2 separate regions of the Homo sapiens genome follow, and region 1 is linked to region 2. Evidence: promoter capture Hi-C in 16 types of primary human blood cells and fetal thymus (Javierre and others, 2016). All regions are on one chromosome and are shown on one strand. The core of a region is centred on a gene start or on the middle of the fragment in contact, and the rest is flanking DNA. Distances in the headings are between cores, read along the strand shown.

What was found. The method cuts DNA at HindIII sites, captures the fragments that hold promoters and counts their contacts. A CHiCAGO score of 5 or more calls a contact.
Region 1: a contact is called between a fragment that was not itself captured here and the fragment with the promoter of PRLR in region 2, in 1 of 17 cell types (M0 macrophages). The highest score is 5.3, in M0 macrophages.

What each region holds. Positions count from the first base shown.
Region 1 is chr5:35,779,795-35,783,023 of GRCh38, forward strand. All of the region lies in intron 30 of SPEF2 (sperm flagellar 2), which reads left to right. Among named protein-coding and RNA genes, the nearest start is that of IL7R, 75 kb to the right of the region's middle. The HindIII fragment of the contact is 2,361 bases long and covers 539-2,899 here.
Region 2 is chr5:35,228,793-35,231,871 of GRCh38, forward strand. PRLR (prolactin receptor) reads right to left here and starts at 1,695. Exons shown (of 10, transcript NM_000949.7): 1 at 1,476-1,695. The HindIII fragment of the contact is 6,146 bases long and covers 1-3,079 here.

The DNA.
Region 1 (3,229 bases), core at 469-2,968, 550 kb after region 2:
CAAATAAGCTGTTAGAAAATGTTTGCTTAATTAATTAGTCGGTTTGTTCATATGTATGTGTAAATGTTTTCTGCACACAACAATTTTATCTCTTTCACATTTTATCAGCATGGACCTACAGCATCTGCACAGGCTTTTTTTATTCAGCCTTTTCCTACTTCCAGATATTCTTCAATGAGTTCTGTCGATTGATAGCACAAGTAATTCAGACAGATCACATAGGATTATCATCTCCACTTTAAAGGTCTAGATACTGACTCACAGAGGAGTTTAGCAGATTTTTTGCCTATGGTCATATATCATTCAGAACTCTGCAGATCCAAAGTTCTTGCCCCTTCTCACTGAACTAAGTTGCCTCTCATAAGCAGATTTCTTTTACTTTTCAACATATACTACTTATTGGGAAATTATTACTTTTCCCTGTAGCATAGTCAACTGACTTTAGTATTAATACAATGTTACTTTTTAAAAAAGTCCAGTATTTCCAGAAATTCACATCATATATCATTAGTAAAAAGAGCATTACTCTAAGTCCGAAAGCTTCCTTGCCAAGCCCAATAGGTGAAATTGGTGTATGTGTGTGTGCCTGGGTGAACCTTGCGCTTTGATGTGTCAGCTCATCAAATCAGCTAGAGCAGGCTTTACAGCTCCAAGGTATAAAAGCCCACACTTCAGCTGTGGAGGGACGGAGGTGCCATTTGGCAGCATTTGGGCACGAAGGAAACATGGCCATCAGCAGGTACAAAAAATCTCGACTTTACAAATCAGTCCATGAAATTCCTTCAGTCCTTTAGTCAGACAGAGTGCACCCTCTTCTACATGGTGCGAGCTCCACAATGCCCTGTTATTATGTACTTCCCTCTTCAGAGTTGCTTTTTCTCTTCATTTTATCCAGGCCATTATTTTACACATAAAATAAAAAGATAAGTGTAAGTGGATTCTAAACATGACATGTGGTTTGCTTTAATCCTACACTCTGGTGACTGGGAGGAAATCACTCAATTAATAGGTAAAAACTAAAGGCATCTGGGGACACTTGAATAGGTAGAAGTGGATTTTGAAAATTATCATCCACTTACAATATATCTTTCAGCAGGGACCCTAGTATCCATGATGCTAATCATAATACTTTCTTGGATCCAACCTCAAATCCAGAGCTCATATTTCCACTAAAAATTTAAAAATAAATTTTAAAAAATAGCAGCTATAACTTGACATGTGTCTCAGAAGATTAACTCTAGAAACCCTTGGGACACAAAGATGTCAACAGATAAATGTTTTCAGACTATGGGAGAAATAAGAAGGGAGGGAGAGGAAGTAAAGGAAGGGAGGGAGGGAGAAACGGAGTTGTTTTTTTTTTAATTTTTATTTTTTTAAAAGCAGAGTAAAAGGAAACCATTTGCCCTAGGAGCTGAGAGTTTAATTTGAAAAGGCAAGCAAAGAGGAAGGAAATATGAACAACTATTTGAGTTCTTTCTGGGACACAGTATGAATGTTATTCAAGTGCTCAAGAATGCAAAGCATCAGTGTGCCCTGAAATTGGTCAGGGAAAAGTCTGTGGAGCAAAACTTTGGAGGGAGAAATTGAAGAGGGTAAAGAGATTTTGTGGCAAGGCTACAGAGAATGTTTACAGTTAGGGGAACAGCTGCTGGAAACTCTGTAGACAAGAAGCGTGAGGATAGGAGCATGATGTTTGGGAAATGTTTAGGAGACTGCTCTGCTTTTCTTTCTCCAACTGCATGAACTCCAGGCGAGTAGAAGAGGAGGCTTTCTCTGTGTGAGGAACCACCTCCTCCCACCCAAGCTGGAGAATTAACCCATATGCAAGAATAACAGTTGTAATTACCACAGAATTTACAAGGCTATACAATACGGTAGGATTTGGGGATTGTGATGATTCAAAGTGAGTTATGTATGGTCTATGGGCAAACAGTTTAAACTCTTTTCTCTATTAGCTCAATTATACCATTTGAAAAAATATATATTGCATATATTGCTTTTTAGGTATATCTAAAATAATTAATAAGTGTTGGGAATTTGATTGACAGGAGTAACGTTCATTGTTATTATTCTTGCTATTCTTATAGAGGGCAGGGAAAAGTATTACTCCATTTTTCTGCATCCCAGAGTCACAGAATTGGAGGTTCTCTACTGATACTCTTGAAATCAGGCTCCAAACATTGACAATGGCCCTGCCTGAGGAAACCCATTAACTGCCACTCACCCCTTTTCCCCATCTCTTCTGGCCCCACAAAGTATACTCTGGCTTTTTTGTTTTTCTACCCCGGTTTGGCAATTGTTCACTTAAGAAACATGACACACACCCATCCGTCTTTTAAATGAAGGCTTTTGTTGTATTTCTTCCAAGAAATGGAAAACAATCCTTTATGATACCTTCCACTGTATTTACCCTAGAACTCTATAATTTCAAAACACAATCTTAGTGAGTGATAGCAGGTTTGAAAGTGTGGAGGAGCTGGCTGAACATGTGTGTTTCAAATGTGTGATCCTGCAGAACTTCCTGCTCAAACTTGCTATTATTTCTATGCCAAGAAATAAAAACATTTTCCTATATTATTTCATATATGCCCATGCAATCCATAATATCTAAGATGCAACTTTCAAGTTCACTAAAATATATTAAAACAGATGGATTTTTTTGGGAGGGAAGCATACATATTTATTTGCATATAACAGCCATTATGTTACTAGGCCCATGGTAGGATTTTTTAGCAGATTTATAAAAAGCACTGATGTTACTAAATTACACTTTGCATGTTTTAATCATGCCACACAAATACAAGTATTGGATTATTATTTAATCTTTGATTAGAACAATGACTGAATGCTTTAAATACTTGCAACTAGATAGTATCAAGATGTAAATGGAAAGAACTAAAGCTTAAGGGGTTTTCTGCTAAGTATTGGTTAATCCCTTTGAAAACAAAAGTCTCCATTAAAATAGCCCTTACTAAAGATAACATAAAATTGAAAAGCATCATATATTGTAACATATTCAACACTCCTTTTCTGGTCAAATTCTGCCACTTATGATGATTCTACCTCTCTTTTGGTAAAGGTAATGATTAGACATAAAATATTATTTATTGATTATTATTAACACAAATATACCAGAAAAAATAATGACCTTATACATGATAATCAAATTAGATCATGCAAAATGCAATGAAACAGTTGATTACACTTGCATTTTTCCTGCCACTTAACA
Region 2 (3,079 bases), core at 445-2,944:
CAAGAAGGCTGTGGATTACTCCCACAGTCAGCCCAACCAGCAGCAAGGAGTTGGCTGGGTGGTCTTGATACAGGAGGAGGAATAAGGGATTGTCACCTGGGATTCAGGCATGGCTTTCAGGGAGTATCCACAAACCCTCAGGGATTGCATGTAAAATTTTATGTACATGCCATATGCATTTTGCCCCAGGAAGAGGACTCACAGCTAATTCTCAAAAGGACCTATCACCCCTAATTTTTAAGAACCACTGAAATTAATATTTTCATCTGCTCCTCTCTTGCACTATTCAGCACTTCCACCTCATTAAACATTTATATATATATTATATATATTTCTATAATATATATATATAATTAATTAATTCCCTAAACTTTGCAGAAAAAAAATCGAAGCCCAGAGAGGGTAAGTATCTTGCCCAAGTTTGCACAGCTGATGGTCAGGATTGGGATTAGCAGCACTTCCCTGGTCAAGTGAAGCACGATTTCAGGTGGGAAATCTTGCCCGGTCAACTTGACAAATGAAGACAAAGTGATCCCTCCAGACTAATAATAATGTTTTGCAACCATTTTCAAGTCCAGTCATAGAATCCCCTACGTTGCTTGTTTTCAGGGCAGTGTGGGTTGCTTCCCCAGGATACAGGTAGAGGTCACTAAAAGGATAGTTTTCTACTCAAAGAGCCAGAACTCCAGCCCTTGCCTTCCCCTGCCGTAGCACTCGGGCCGGCCCTCCAGTTACCTGAGTTTGCCTGACTTTAACCAACTCCTCTTCCCTTCCCTCCTCCCTTCTCCAGCGGGCTCTCCTTCCAGCTTCCTCCCGGGCTGCAATTCCTCTGCCTAGGTGCCTCCGTCCAGCTCCGGCTTCTGGCCCGGAGGCTGCTCATCTGCCCCTACCCCCGCTGACTTTTGGGAGGAGCAACACCTTTCAGGTCAGCATTGCTAACCCTAAACTTTCCCCGCCGGATGCCCGCGAGGCTGCTGCGGCGGCGGCTGCTGCTGATGGGAGAGTCTCGAGTCCGGCTTTCATCACATCACCTGTCTGCGCCCCTTCCCCCTCCCCGCTCTTTTTTTCTTTTCTTTTTATTTTGACGCAAATAATTTGCATTCTGAGAATCCCACAATCAACGCCGAAACTCATGCTCAAGGATACAGGTGAAGATGCCTTTGACAAAGGCGAATGCGAGCCGAGTGCAGTTTGTAAAAGCTGGGGTTGGGGGCAGTGGTGGAGGCAAAGCACCTTAAGAGTATTTTTTAGCCCCTCTGAGAAGGGACATCCGGGCGGGAGGCGGGCGGATCCCGGGCTTCCCCGCCGGCTGCCGACTCTGGCTCCTGGCTGGCGTTCTCTCCAGGAGCCCGCGCCGGTGGCCCCGCTCTCCCCTTCAGCACGCGGGCCTCGAACCCGCATCCCGGAGAGCGGCCGCCCGCGCAGCCCCTGCCGCGCGCCGTCGGAGGCGGCCTCAGCTCGCCATGGGTACTCACTTTTGCCAGGGAGCAAAGTCTGCCACATCAGTCGATGAGTACTTCCTGCACGAGGACATGAAGCTCCATTGTGTGGAAAGCTGTTTCGCGAACGGTCGGTAAAATCCAGAAAGAGGGAGAAGGAGTGAGTAAGGCAGAAAGCCCAGCCCAGAAAACCGGCGTCTGGGGATTTCAGCCTCCGCTCCCCGGTCCCCAGCCCGGTGGCTCTGTGAGAAGAAGCTCAACTCGGTGCACTTGTTCACTCTTTCTTCATGAGAGGAGGAGTCAGTGTTGCAACATTTATGTTCCTTGCTGGAGGCAAAACAGTGATTTTCTTCAGCATGCAAAACGTCCAGAGCCTGCCAGTTTTAGAAGGCGACGGAGGTAGTTGGGGGAGCTGGAATCCTGCGAAGACCTGAAGAAACAACTGATTCCCCCCAGATCGGTTTTGCATGATTAGGGCCACATATCTTTCATTGAGACTGTACCAGAAAATAGACAGACAAAACAATAATAAAAATGACTTAGTGAGTTGAATGACCTCAAAGATGATATTTTTCCAGGCAGCCAAGATGTGGAGTGTCTCCGTGTCAAATTTCTTTCCTTATTTCTGAGTAACATTGAACAGCAGCTATATTTGAGAGGTTCTCCAGGGATTTGAATTGCACCTTGCCTGAGGAGTCAGATAGAAAGGAGCAAAAGAAGATAGTCAGTGACCTAAGAAGGTTTTGCTTTTTTTTTTTTTTAATACCCAAAGCGCAAACTTCTAGTGTGCTGTGTTTATTCTCTGCCATATGAATATAATAAACATTGGCGGTGCCTAAATAGCCCCACTTCTGTTGTTTTCCACAAATAAAGAATTTATCTTTTCTAATGGGCTGCATGTTGTTCTGACTTTTCTTCTTCTTGAAACCACACACAACCGCCTTTTCTCTTGCAAAAACAAAAACCCCACATTTAACAGTGCTGAAACAAATAATAGCACCTGCCTGAATCAAATAGTTATTTCTGACTATGTATGTTGCTGGTGTCATTTGATGCCATAATAATTAATGCATCCGATTGTTACACAACCCAGAGGGCCACCAAGGAAATACTTTAAACCAAGGTTACTGAGTTTTTTTTTTTGTTTGTTTTTGTTTGTTTTTTTGAGACAGAGTCTCGCTCTGTCGCTCAGGCTGGATTGCAGTGACCCCATCTCGGCTCACTGGAACCTCTGCCTCCTGGATTCAAGCAATTGTCCTGCTTCAGCCTCCCGAGTAGGTGGGACTACAGGCGCGTGCCACCATGTCCGGCTAGTTTTTTGTATTTTTAGTAGAGATGAGGTTTCACCCTGTTAGCCAGGATGGTCTTGATTTCCTGACCTCATGATCCACCCACCTTGGCCTCCTGAAGTGCTGGGATTACAGGCGTGAGCCACTGCGCCTGGCCGTTTTTTTTTTTGTTTTGTTTTAAGTTATTGAAACATGAGGCTTTCCCCTTTGATTTGACTGCTACTCTGGATAACTGGGAAATCACAGTTAGCAGTGAGCATTTGCCAAGCCACAGGAAGCCATTGAAAATCCCATGATGCTTTGGTGATCCTTTTGGACTGGAATCCCAGAAGCAACTACCTAGGCATAATA